Linked DNA regions of Homo sapiens: region 1 is linked to region 2. The links are contacts of gene promoters, found by promoter capture Hi-C in blood cells and fetal thymus (Javierre and others, 2016). All regions are on one chromosome and are shown on one strand. The core of a region is centred on a gene start or on the middle of the fragment in contact, and the rest is flanking DNA. Distances in the headings are between cores, read along the strand shown.

Region 1 (6,418 bases), core at 61-2,560, 110 kb after region 2:
CATCCTCCCCTCACCTTCCTTCCCTTCCATCCTCCCCTCACCTTTCTCCCCTGCCCATCCTCCCCTCATCCTCCTCCCCTCTCCATTCTCCCCTCACCTTCCTCCCTCTCTATCCTCCCCTCACTTTCCTCCTCCTCCTCCATCCTCCCTTCTCCATCCTCCCCTCACCTTCCTCCCCCTCCATCCTTCCCTCACCTTTCTCTCCTCTCCATTCTCCCCTCATCTTCCTCCCCCTCCATCCTTCCTTCACCTTCCTCCCCTCCGCACCCTCCCCTCCGCATCCTCCCTTCAGCCTACTCCCCTCCCCATTCTACCTCCCTCGACCTTCCTCCCCTCTGTTTCCTCCCCTCTGCATCCCCTCGGCCTCCTCCCCTTGGCTTCCTCCCCTCCGCATCCTCCCCTCCCCATCCACCCCTCAGCATCCTCCTTTCACCTTCCTCCCCTCCGCATCTTCCCCTCCACATCCTCTTCTCGGCTTCCTCCCCTCGGCTTCCTCCCCTTGGCGTCCTCCCCTCGGCGTCCTCCCCTCGGCGTCATCCCCTCCCCATCCTCCCCTTCCCATCCTCCCCTCCACATTCTCCTCTCTGCATCCACCCCTCCGCATCCTCCCCTTTGCATCCTCCCCTGGGCATCCTCCTCTTGCCTCGGCAGTTCTAGACTCTGCCCTTGCCCATGGTCAATGAGCCACCTGCATTTCACCTGCGGGGTGATGTGGGACCTGTGGCAGTGGGCTCACATATGGTGTGGCATGGCCCCTGGAAGTCAGTGAGCGTCTCGCTGACTTCTTCATGCCGTGTTGCATTGGTCTGAGCTGCCTTCCACTGTCTGTTTCCCCTGTGGAGGAAATAACACACATTTGCCTGATAAATGGAGGCAGTCTCTAGTGCCTGGCACCTGCTGATTTCCCTTCACCTGTGTTCATGTTTGGGACTTTCATTGCAAGTATCAATGTAAGCATTCCGAGTCTGGGTATTTGGAAGTTTGAGGCTTCTTAGCCTGGCCCGTGCTGTTGGGCACGTCGATGCCAGAGGCCCACTACCTTGGGACCTCCCCGTTTAGATATGAACAAACAGTGTCATTTTACAGCCCCTGTGTGCCGCTTTAGAGTGGCCCAGGCCAAGGCACAGGCAGGGTGCCCACCCTTCATCCCATGTTCTCCCACGCCACCTCCCTCCTGGAGGAGCTGGCGGTGTTGGAAACACCGAGGAAGCCCATCGGCGCTCCCTCCTGTCCCCTCCTGCAGGCACCTGAAGGAGATCTCGGAGCTGCAGAGCCAGCAGAAGCAGGAGATCGAAGCTCTGTACCGCCGCCTGGGCAAGCCACTGCCCCCCAACGTGGGCTTCTTCCACACGGCACCCCCCACTGGCCGCCGGAGAAAAACCAGCAAGAGCAAGCTGAAGGCAGGCAAGCTGCTAAATCCCCTGGTGCGGCAGCTCAAGGTCGTGGCCTCCAGCACAGGTCGGCCTCCGGGTGCAGGGCTGGGATGGGAGCGGGGCTGGGGACCCCCGAGTGAGCCTGGGAGGTAGGCTCCGTGCAGGTGTGACACCCTCGGACCTGGAAGACCACTCGGGGTTATCTCCTTACTGAATCTCCTTTCCCTGGAGCAGGGGAGTCATTGCAGCATGAAGGCAGCCCTGGTCCTCCGTCCTCATGCAGAGAGGCAAGGCCCGTGAGTGGGCAGGGGCTGCTCAGCGTTGGGCCTGAGACTCTAGGCTGTGGGCTGTGCCAGGGAAGCTCAGGCTGCCCTCCCTCACCTGCTCCTCTGCAGGGCACTGCGTGGACGGATGGTGGCTGCTTCCTTTGACCCATTTCTTGGGTGTGTGCCAGCCGAGCAGCTGTCGTTAGGGGCTGGGGGAGGACGGGAGGACGGTGATGATCTCCCAGTCTTGTTAAAGGTGACACCTAGTCATTGAGTGGCACTGGCCTGGCCCCAGGCAGCCACCAGCCCACGTCCCTGCATGTCAGGGCTTCCTGAGGCCTCCTGAGCAGCACTGCAGCCTGCTTGCTGGTGGAGAGCCCTGGCAGTCTGGGATGGAGCCCCTGTGAGCCCAAGTCCCCAAGCATGCCAGGCAAGCCACCATAAGCTCACTATAAGCCCACAACCTTCAGGGCACACAGCCATGAATTATACCCATTACACGAATTCAGAGACAGTTCCCAGAGCTAAGGGAAGACTGAGATGAGAAGTACACAGGCCACTGTGTGCCTGGGTGTGTCTTCTGTCACTATATTTGCTCAACACAAGTCCAGCACGGCAGTGGGGGCTGGTAGAGACTGGGCACTTTCTTTGCTCTTCCCCATCACTCCTCTGTGGGAGATGTGGCCATGTGCCTGTGGTCTGCAGGAGACGTGAGCTTCCCCAAGGTCACCCAGCAATAAGCAGGCAGAACAGACTCAATCCACACGGCCCCGACCCGGCGGCGCCTCATCGTGCCTGTCGCCTCTTCTCCCCCCGCCCAGGTCACTTGGCTGACTCCAGCAGAGGCCCTCCCGCTAAGGACCCTGCCCAAGCCAGTGTGGGGCTCACTGCAGACAGCACGGGCCTGAGCGGGAAGGCAGTGCAGACCCAGCAGCCCTGCTCCGTCCGGGCCTCCCTGTCTTCGGACATCTGCTCCGGCTTAGCCAGTGATGGAGGCGGAGCGCGTGGCCAAGGTGATTTCCAGCTTGCCTGTCTCCGAGCATGTGCTAGCCACGTAGGGCCTCAGTGGTGTCCCCAGGAGCACGCCCGTGTTGTGTAGAGGGGTTGCAAGCTGTGGCAAAGGCTGTTGAGAGGCTTCTTTTAAAAAGGATAAAAAAAAAAAGGTGTAGTCTTTGGATGAAAGGAATGGAATTGTCCCATCCACCACCAAGTCTTGCTTGTAAGCAGCTCAGGGGGAGGTGATGCTTTGCTAGAGTGGACCTTGGGGAAGTGGCTAGGACTGGGGAGGGCAGGGGACCTGGCATCCGGCTGTGTGCTCCGGCGCCAGTTCCCAGGCACTGGCTGCCCCACCCCCACCCCCACAGCGGAGCCAGATGGTGCTAAACACCGGGTCCTTCCAAAGTCCAGAGGGACGGCTGGGGGGACGAGGGCACAGCTTTCGAGCTGGGAGTTTGGCCTTGAGGAGGAAATTCTCTCGTCAACGCTGCGTGGACAGCAGCAGCTGCTCAATAAGGTGCTCTCCTGTCCTCACCATCTCTGTCCAGAGAAATCATGGTGACCATGAAGCCGCCCCGCCCCGCCCACCCCACCCTGCCCGCCCCTCTCCGGGCTGCTTCTCTTCTGCTCTCCCGCTGCCTCCTTCCCATTACATGGTCAGTGGCTTTGGTGCTCCGGGCTGGGCTAGATGGAGCCGTGGATGTTAAGTGACGAGGCTGGTGTGGCTGTTGGTGTGGAGGAGGAATCGCAGCAACCTGTACTTGATGAGTGTCTCTTTGTTTTCTTCCCTTTATATTCATTTGCAGGCTGGACGGTTTACCACCCAACGTCTGAGAGAGTGACCTATAAGTCTAGTAGCAAACCTCGTGCTCGATTCCTCAGTGGACCCGTATCTGTGTCCATCTGTCTGTATTTGTTCTTTTGTATTTTATCACCTCCTGGCCCTTGGTTTTCTCCCCCCACCCCCTCCCTGTCTTCATTACCTTTCATACATTTCATAGGATGCCTCCCCCACCCCATCGAAGTCACCTATTTAATATCAAAGTGGAACCCCATGAGCCGGTCCCCTGGAGCGGCGGCCGCCAGCGCCTACCCCCAAGCCCCACACAGCGTGTGTGCATGCTCATGGCTGGTGCCTGGGCACGGAAAGCATGTGCAGCGGCTGGCCTGCCTTCCGCCCCGGGCACCTCTGCCCAGAAGGACTGGAGCCCTTTGCATTCTTTTCGTCACCTCATTTATTTAATTTTTTTTTTTATGTTGGATGTAGTTTTTTTTTCTGTTGCAATTGTGGCAAATATACATGTCCGCTGTCCCCAGTTCCAGCGACAACAAAAAGACAACCCCAACCTCCTCCAGATGCACAGTGTGTGTCACGCGTGTCTGGACTGTGAAGACATGCACATAGCGAGCCTATACGGTTCTAAAGGTCACTGGAGGGCGTGGTTTCTGTACCAGGGCCAAATCCCAGCACCCAGTACCCTGCACACCCACCGCCCTGTGCCCTGCATGTGGAAATGCTGAGAGAACGTGCTCCAGTTCGGGCCTCCCCAGCCCCTCCCCACTGGAAGGGCAGGTCTGGTCCCCTTTGTCATTGCTCCTCACCCACTGCTGTCTCCAACCCCAAATAGGAGAGTGACGGCCACCTGGGCAGCTCTTCTTTGGAGCATGCATCCTGCTTGGCCGGCTCCTCCTCCTCCTCCAGCCAGTGGGAGCACTTTACTTGCTGTATTTTCCTGTGACCTCCCATGACCGCAGGGATGAAGTCAATGACGCAGTTCCTCCAATTGCTACTAAGCCAAAACCCAGTCCCAGCCTTGCTCAGATCCCCTGGAACACAGTTAGTGCCCAGGAACTCCATCTCCAGGGAAGGCTCTGCCTGCTTGGGGCCATCCCAAAGCACGCAGTTTGTTTTTAACCCTCAGGACGATCGGCCAGTGAACCAAAAGCTGTGAGATTTTTAGGCTTTTGTCTTTTTAACAGGAAAATTAAGCTTTTTCAACAATTGGATTGGATATGCTGGTTTGGGGCACGTGACTTTTTGCTTGTACAATAAAGATACATTGTGCTTGTTGGGAGCCAGAGGCCATGCCTGTGGGAGGCGTCCACTGCCATCCACCCACCCCATCAGAGGTCCATGTGGGTCATCATTCTCCGGGCAGGCAATTCGAGGACACAAGGGCCATGTAGGAATGCCAGGGCCTTCCCAGGGCTTCCCGTTCGCCTGTTTAACAGGCTGCCCTGTTTCGGCCACCATGTCATCTGGGCTGTTGGTCTGGGGGTCTGGGTGGCCTGGTGTCTGGTGAGTTGCTGAGTTGAATCTGGGGAGGAGTGGGCGCCTTCCCCCCCACCCCTGCGTCTCTGGGTCCTCTTATGGCAGCCGGCTGTGGTTCCTTCTCCGCAGCCGGTTCCCGGCCCTGCTGGCCTTGTGCCTCACTTGCTGCTCCTCTTCCGGCTCCTGCATGTGCGGCTCGATCTGGGGCTGTCACTGGGGGCGAGGGCACCTGGGAGACTCAGTGCAGGGTGTTAGTGTCAGGTATGGCGCCTACCCAGGCCCCACTTCCACCCCCATGCTGTGTTTTGTGGTATTGCTTGTTTTCACGGCTTAGCCCCCATCAGGCAAGTCTTAGTCTTAGTCTTTTTGGGCCATAATGTCTCCCCCAGTTCCCCCACACTCTGAAGTTGCTGGCCGGGGAGAGCCCAGGTGGGCCTCTGCCCTGGGCGCCTCTCAAGCCCTGTCTGGATCAGCTCCAGGCCTCCGAAGTCTCTGCCACTCTCCTGGGATGTGGCTGGGACTGGCCCCTCCTGCCTCTGTGCCCCTGGGCTGTGGAGGCTGGACTTCTTGTTGAGCCATCCACTGGCACATCTGCTGCTCATGGGTAAACCCCCAGGGCAGCCCAAAAGAGAAGGGAGAGCTGTGGGGTCTGTGAGGAGACCAAGCACCTCCAGGGGAAAGACTGCAGGGGTGGGCGCAGCCCTGTGAGCGCTGAGAGGCTGAGGACTTGGGCGGAAGCTGTGGGATTGCGCCAGGCTTGGAGGCCAGGAGGGAGGGTTGCAGGCAGGGGTAGTGTGAGCAGATGGGCTAGGAAGACGCTGAGGTCGGTGTATGGAAGACACCGAGGGGTCGGGGGTCGCGCTGCAAGTAGAGGAGGAGCAGGGTGGATGCCAAGGTGCGGCTAGTGGGGGGCAGCCGGCGCAGCCAGCCCAGCCTTTGCTCCCTAGGGCCTGGGGAGAGCTTTCAGCTCACTGCCCTGGTGTGGGGCACTCCCACTTCCTGGAAGAGAAACAGTTCCAGGAAAACAAAATGTGTTAAATTTTGAAATATAGAAGGATCCTGGCCTCTGTGAAGGTCAGAGAAGATGAAACGGCCCCAGGCAGGGTGGGTTGAGGCCAGGCCAGAGGATGGGCTGCGGGTGCCCAGGTGGCTGTGCCCAGGGATAGAGCAGGGCAGTGCAGCAGGCACCTCCAGAGGCCCGAGCTGACTCAAGGTGCAGGACAGGGAATAAAGCAGTGGAGGCTGGGAGCAGCAGGTGGACAGACCCCTAGGGAGTGCAAGGCCCTGCTTAGAACCCCTGTGAGCTGGGCCCCTTGGCATAGACTTCTCACCCAGCTTGCAGATGCCCCCTTGTGGTCAGCAGTTGCTGTGGGGAGCTCACATGACCCAGTGCCCCAGAGCAGTCTCCCTTTTTTTTTTTGAGACAAAGTCTGGCTCTGTTACCCAGACTGGAGTGCAGCGGCAAGATCTCAGCTCACTGCAACCTCCGCTTCCCTGACTCAAGCAATCTT
Region 2 (5,558 bases), core at 1,457-3,956:
ATCCCAGCACTTTGGGAGGCTGAGGTGGTTGGATCACTTGAGGTCAGGAGTCCGATACCAGCCCGGCCAACATGGTGAAACCTCATCTCTACTAAAAATACAAAATTAGCTGGGCGTGGTGGTGGGCGCCTGTAATCCCAGCTACTCAGGAGGCTGAGGCAGGAGAATTGCTTGATCCTGGGAGGCAGAGGTTGCAGTGAGCTGAGCTGAGATCCCGTCACTGCACTCCAGCCTGGGCAACAAAGTGAAACTCCATCTCAAAAAAACAAAAACAAAAGCAGAAAACAAAAAACAAACCTCCAAAAGACAAATGCTGGCATCATGACCCTGGATCATGCAGCCTCAGGACACCCAGTAAAGCAGACTACAGTATTTATACTCCCCGTCTTAGCAGCAGGGAGATGGAAGCTCAGAGATATCCAGTGACCTGCCAAAGGGCATATAGCCAGTGCTGTGAAGTCCTGACTTCCAAGGTCTGTCCAAGGATCCCTCAGGCTCCATCTGCCAGGATCCCAGGAGCTGCTCCTGAGCCCAGCCTGAGATTCCTTGCAGAGGAAACTGTGACCTGTCCACTACTGACTTAGCTGTGTACCCTAATGGTCATGGGTTGGCAGAGAGAATGAGCTCTCCACCATGGGAGGTGTGTAAGCAGAGATGCGTGAATTCACCCCAAGGGCTCAGAGAGCACACAGTACTCTCTCAGGGACAGGCTGTCCCCCACTCCCCACAGCCTGGGCTGCTCCCTGCTGATTTGTGGGTGTAGCCATCCTTTCCCACGCATGTGTACAAGTGTGGGTGGGCAGCAGCCATGGGTGCTGATGAACCTTCTCCGATGCTGGCAGGTATTTTGCCCACACACTGCCAGTGTGGCCTGTTGGGAGCAGGAGGAGGCCAGATAGGTGTGTGCTGGTCTCAGAACACGCTTAGCTCTGTCCCATCCTGGTTTTCCCTTGGATAGGCTTGAACACACCCATCATGAACAGGTCTGTGGACTTGGTGCCCTTCCTAGATTGACTGAATCTACAAGGAATTGGCAGCCTTTTAAGGTGGGCAAGTCAGGATGATCAGCCCACTCTGCAGGGCCAGATACTGAGGCTCAGGAAGGACCAGGACTTGCCCAAGTTCACTCAGCTGGTTAGGGGCAAGGTTGGGGGGTCTTTAGCCTCCAAAGGGAAGACAGAAAAGATCCTTTTCCACCCCTGACCTCTACCTGGAAGACTCCTGCCCCAGGAGATGCAACTTAGATCCCTGTCCCTCAGGCCTCTCTGTCCTGCAGAGCTGGCGTCTGCTGTTTGGCCTCCTCCTCGTGTGAGCTCTGGGCTCATGCCAGCGGACTTGAGCCCCGGAATGAATGCCTGTCTCACACGGTAGATTAGATTATATAAATAACAGGCAAGTGCCAAATGCATAGCCCTACACCTAGCACACTATTTAACCACTGGCTCTCTGGGGAGAAAAGTCCTGATTTGAGGTGTTTGCCAATTTCCGCAGTGTAAATACTCCCAGCATTGCTGACTTCAGGCTACAGGGTGGCATTGCTGAACCCAGAGCTGGGAAGGGATGTTCACTGTTGCCCCTCACAAATTAGTTTCAGCCAGTGCCAGTGCCCAGCGGGGCTCCAGGAAGTCCTGCTTCTCTGGGTAACAGTTGGCCTGGCATATTCTTCCCTCTACATTGTGAAGGTGAGATATCGCCTCTGCTGGCTTTTATGCCACATGAGTTATTTTGTGCCAGGGGCTCCAAGGCCTACAGGCCCACAAGCATCTTTTCATCTCTGGAAGTGTGTGTGTATCTGATGGGGGTGCCAGCCCAGTGGGATGGGGACTGAGATGAGAATACTCTGGTATCTCCCTTGTGCCTCAGTTTCCTCACCTAGGATCATGGAGGCTGGGGTAAGGGTGAAGTGTTAGCTCAGGGCATTGCCTGGAGCAGGGCTCAGAACTTAGCAGTATGGTTACTGACACAGGTCACCTGCTGCATTAGGGCCAGAGACGCCCAAGAGAGGGCTTGTCCGTGGGGGTCTAGAGGAGGAAGGAGCTAGAGATCATGGAAGACTTCTCGGGAGAGGTGGCATCTGGCAGAGGTGGGAAGGAAGAACACTTTGGGTCAAGGGGCTTCTGGAAGCCTCTCCATATCCCATCCAAGGCATTCCAGCTCAGCTTCGGTCTTGAAAGTTCTGGGATTTAGAGCATATAACTTCTGCCTTTGGCGCCTCAGTTTGCTCTAGACTGTGAAATGGGCATAATGATCACCAGTGCCTCCCTGGGTGATGATGAGGTCCTCATGGTTCCTGGTGGTGAAGTGAGGGCAGGAAAGGACACGCTGAGCCCCACCAGGCTTAGCCCCAGGCTGGGCTCCCGAGGGCGGCGGTACCCCTGGTCCTTTTCTTCCTAGCCTGCCCATTCTGTCCTGGCACAGGGCCTTGAGGTCTAGCGCGCCGGGCTGCGGCGTGCTGAGGCGTTGAGCCTGCTGCCTCCTCTCAGGAAGAAACGGGGTCCTCCGCAGCTGACAGCCCTGCGGGGCGTTCCAAAGAACTTCAGAGGACAGGAGCGCTACCTCGAGCAAAGAACCGCGGGTGGGAGCCCAGGTAGCCGGCCCGCAGGTGGCCGCGCGCGCCTGCCAGTCAGCCAGCCCGTCCGCAGCCAGGTGGGCGTGCCAGGCCCAGCCCCCTGCGCCGGTCCGGGGCGGGGCGAACGGAGCCCCGCCCTCCCCGCGCGCCGGGTCGGAGCCGGTGCGGGAGCGGAGCCGCGCGAAGCCGGCAGGAGCACGCGGGAGCGCGGCCCCGCAGTGGCCCGGCCCGAGAGAGCAGCGCGCAGGAGCTGGAGCGGCGCCACGGCCCCCACCCCAGCGCGGACCTCGCCCGGAACTCGGACCCCGTCCTCGAAGCGTGATCTCTCCCGCCTCGCACGCCCTGGCCGCCGGGCCGCGGGCATGGACGGCGTCCGCTCGCCCTGTGAGTGCCGAGCCTCCCCTCAACGCCGCTCGCCGCCTTTGTGTGCGCGCCGCGGCGCTGCAGCCCCCTCCCCGCGCGCCCCTCCCGCGCCCCGGGCCCGCGTCCTTTGTGGAGCCGCCGCCGGGCCACTGCCTTCCTCCCACCCCCGGGCTTCCCTATCCCCTTTACAGCTGCCTCCGGGACAGCCTAGCAGAACCCTCCTGGGCCAGGGCTGGGCAGGGCGCGAGATCCCTCTGCCGGCCTCCGGGGCCCTCAGGGACACCCTAGCAGGTCCTCTCTCCCAGGGTTCCAGGGACACCACAGGCCCGTCCCTCTCCGCAGCCTGGGGCTGAGCAGGGCACGGACCCCTCCTCCCCAACCCAAGCCTCTGGTCCCGTCTGCAGCCCCCCTTTCCCAGGGCCCCCAGAGACGGCCCCCGCAGGCTCTCTCCGCGGCCGGGGCTGGGCAGGTTGCGGGCTTAGGGCGGCGTTGTCTCATCCGGCGGCCTGGGCAGGTGCGGCAGGGCCGGCGCTCACGCGGGCCTGTGTGTCCTTGGCCCACAGAGATGGACGGCGATGGCGGCCGCCGAGACGTCCCCGGCACGCTGATGGAGCCCGGGCGCGGCGCGGGGCCCGCGGGCATGGCGGAGCCTCGGGCGAAGGCGGCGCGGCCGGGGCCCCAGCGCTTTCTGCGGCGCAGCGTGGTAGAGTCGGACCAGGAGGAGCCGCCGGGCTTGGAGGCAGCCGAGGCGCCGGGCCCGCAGCCCCCGCAGCCCCTGCAGCGCCGGGTGCTTCTGCTCTGCAAGACGCGCCGCCTCATCGCGGAGCGCGCCCGCGGACGCCCCGCCGCCCCCGCGCCCGCAGCGCTGGTAGCGCAGCCGGGAGCCCCCGGAGCCCCCGCGGACGCCGGCCCCGAGCCCGTGGGCACGCAGGAGCCCGGCCCGGACCCCATCGCAGCCGCTGTCGAAACCGCGCCTGCCCCCGACGGCGGCCCCAGGGAGGAGGCGGCGGCGACCGTGAGGAAGGAGGATGAGGGGGCGGCCGAGGCGAAGCCTGAGCCCGGGCGCACTCGCCGGGACGAGCCCGAAGAGGAGGAGGACGACGAGGACGACCTCAAGGCCGTGGCCACCTCTCTGGACGGCCGCTTCCTCAAGTTCGACATCGAGCTGGGCCGCGGTTCCTTCAAGACGGTCTACAAGGGGCTGGACACGGAGACCTGGGTGGAGGTGGCCTGGTGTGAGCTGCAGGTGAGGGTGCCCCAGCCCGCAGGGGGCTTTCCGCAGGGTCTGTCCGCGAGTGCGTCCTTGGGCCTGTCCTTGCTCCTGCGCCTGGCCTTAAGAAGCCCTGGGGGCGGCGGGGCTCCATGTGTGTCACCCTCTGTGTGGATGGCTGGCAGGATGCATACCAGGTGTGCGGACGGCATGTGGGGCCTGGCTGTGTCCGTGCGCAGGTTGCGGTTTGTGAGTCAGCTGGTGGCGAGGGCAGGCCTCTGTTGTGCGTTTGGTGTAAGTGTGCACGCTGTGGGCGTAGAGAGGGTCCTGGAGAGTGGGCCTCGGAGGCTGTGTCTCTTAGGCTGCTGCTTCTCCAGTCCCGATGACCTACTTTAATGACCCAGGGAGTCTGGACTGTTGTGTCTTTGCAAAACAGTGTGGAGGCTTCAAGGCCCGGTGTGTGCAGTCAGAGTGTTTTGGGGGCTCTGGGCTGCCCATAAATTAGTACTTTCCTGTGTCCAGCAAGCCGTGGCTGCCCCAGCAGGGATACCTGCAGAGACTTCTTCTGACCCAGGGCCTGTGACCCAGAGGTGGTGCCTGGTAGAGCTCTGGGGACAGCTGGGCAAGGCCTGGAAGTGTGGTTAGTCGCCTCTGCTGCTCTGAGAGCTCCATTTGTTCACAAAATGGACGTGTGAGAGGTCTTAAAACCGAGTCATGCAGAATGCGTGTGGGGGTTTTTCTTGGCTGCAGAGGCTCTGGGCATGCATTTTTCATAATCCTGCCATCACCGTGGTGTCAGCCCCAGCCCTGCAAGATTATATAAACAGCCACCTTAGCTGTCCTGGGACAGCCTAGGAAGCAGAGGCCATGCCTGTCCAGGGGGTGTTTACAGGCCTCCCTCCTTGGAGGTGGGCAGCTGTCAGGCGTGAGCCAGTCTGGGAGAGTGCCGGCTGGAGGTGTAAGTGTACTCTGTTGGCCTGTAAAGTTAGCTGGCTGTCCAGTCCAGGCCTGAAACGGGGCTGGGGCTAGCTGGGGCAAGCTGTGTTCTGGGGCCGCTGGCCACACTGCGGGACTCTTGCATTTTTGACTCAGAAGTGGGATTCAATTGCTATATCCTCCGGCCCCGACAGGGTGGCCTGCGTGTGTGTGCAAGCCTGGATAATTCGGTGGGTGTCGACCTGTCGTCAGCCTTTCTCCCAAGACAAAGAGCTCCAGAGACCTGCCTCTCCACCACCCCTTGGTTCTGCCTTGGAGATGTGGCTTTTCAAGTTAGGGGTCAGTGGCATTGTGTGAGGTCCTTAGGAGGGACTGAACAGCTCCCCTCCCTCATGGTCCTGTAGGTTCTGATGGTACAGGAAAGGCAGTGGGTGGGGCAGGGGGCTGTGATCTGGGGGTCCTGGGGTGTGCTGGGCATTC

The links. The method cuts DNA at HindIII sites, captures the fragments that hold promoters and counts their contacts. A CHiCAGO score of 5 or more calls a contact.
Region 1: a fragment that was not itself captured here is called in contact with the fragment with the promoter of WNK2 in region 2 in 2 of 17 cell types (M1 macrophages and M0 macrophages); the score reaches 6.4 in M1 macrophages.

Annotation. Positions count from the first base shown.
Region 1 is chr9:93,296,610-93,303,027 of GRCh38, forward strand. It overlaps WNK2 (WNK lysine deficient protein kinase 2), which reads left to right. Exons shown (of 30, transcript NM_006648.4): 24 at 1,244-1,458; 25 at 2,461-2,652; 26 at 3,442-3,540. Among named protein-coding and RNA genes, the nearest start is that of WNK2, 120 kb to the left of the region's middle. RefSeq lists enhancers at 2,143-2,643, 4,592-5,504. The HindIII fragment of the contact is 6,626 bases long and covers 1-4,623 here.
Region 2 is chr9:93,181,433-93,186,990 of GRCh38, forward strand. WNK2 (WNK lysine deficient protein kinase 2) reads left to right here and starts at 2,707. Exons shown (of 30, transcript NM_006648.4): 1 at 2,707-2,953; 2 at 3,496-4,178. The coding sequence starts at 3,498. RefSeq lists an enhancer at 4,745-5,558. The HindIII fragment of the contact is 9,715 bases long and covers 1-5,558 here.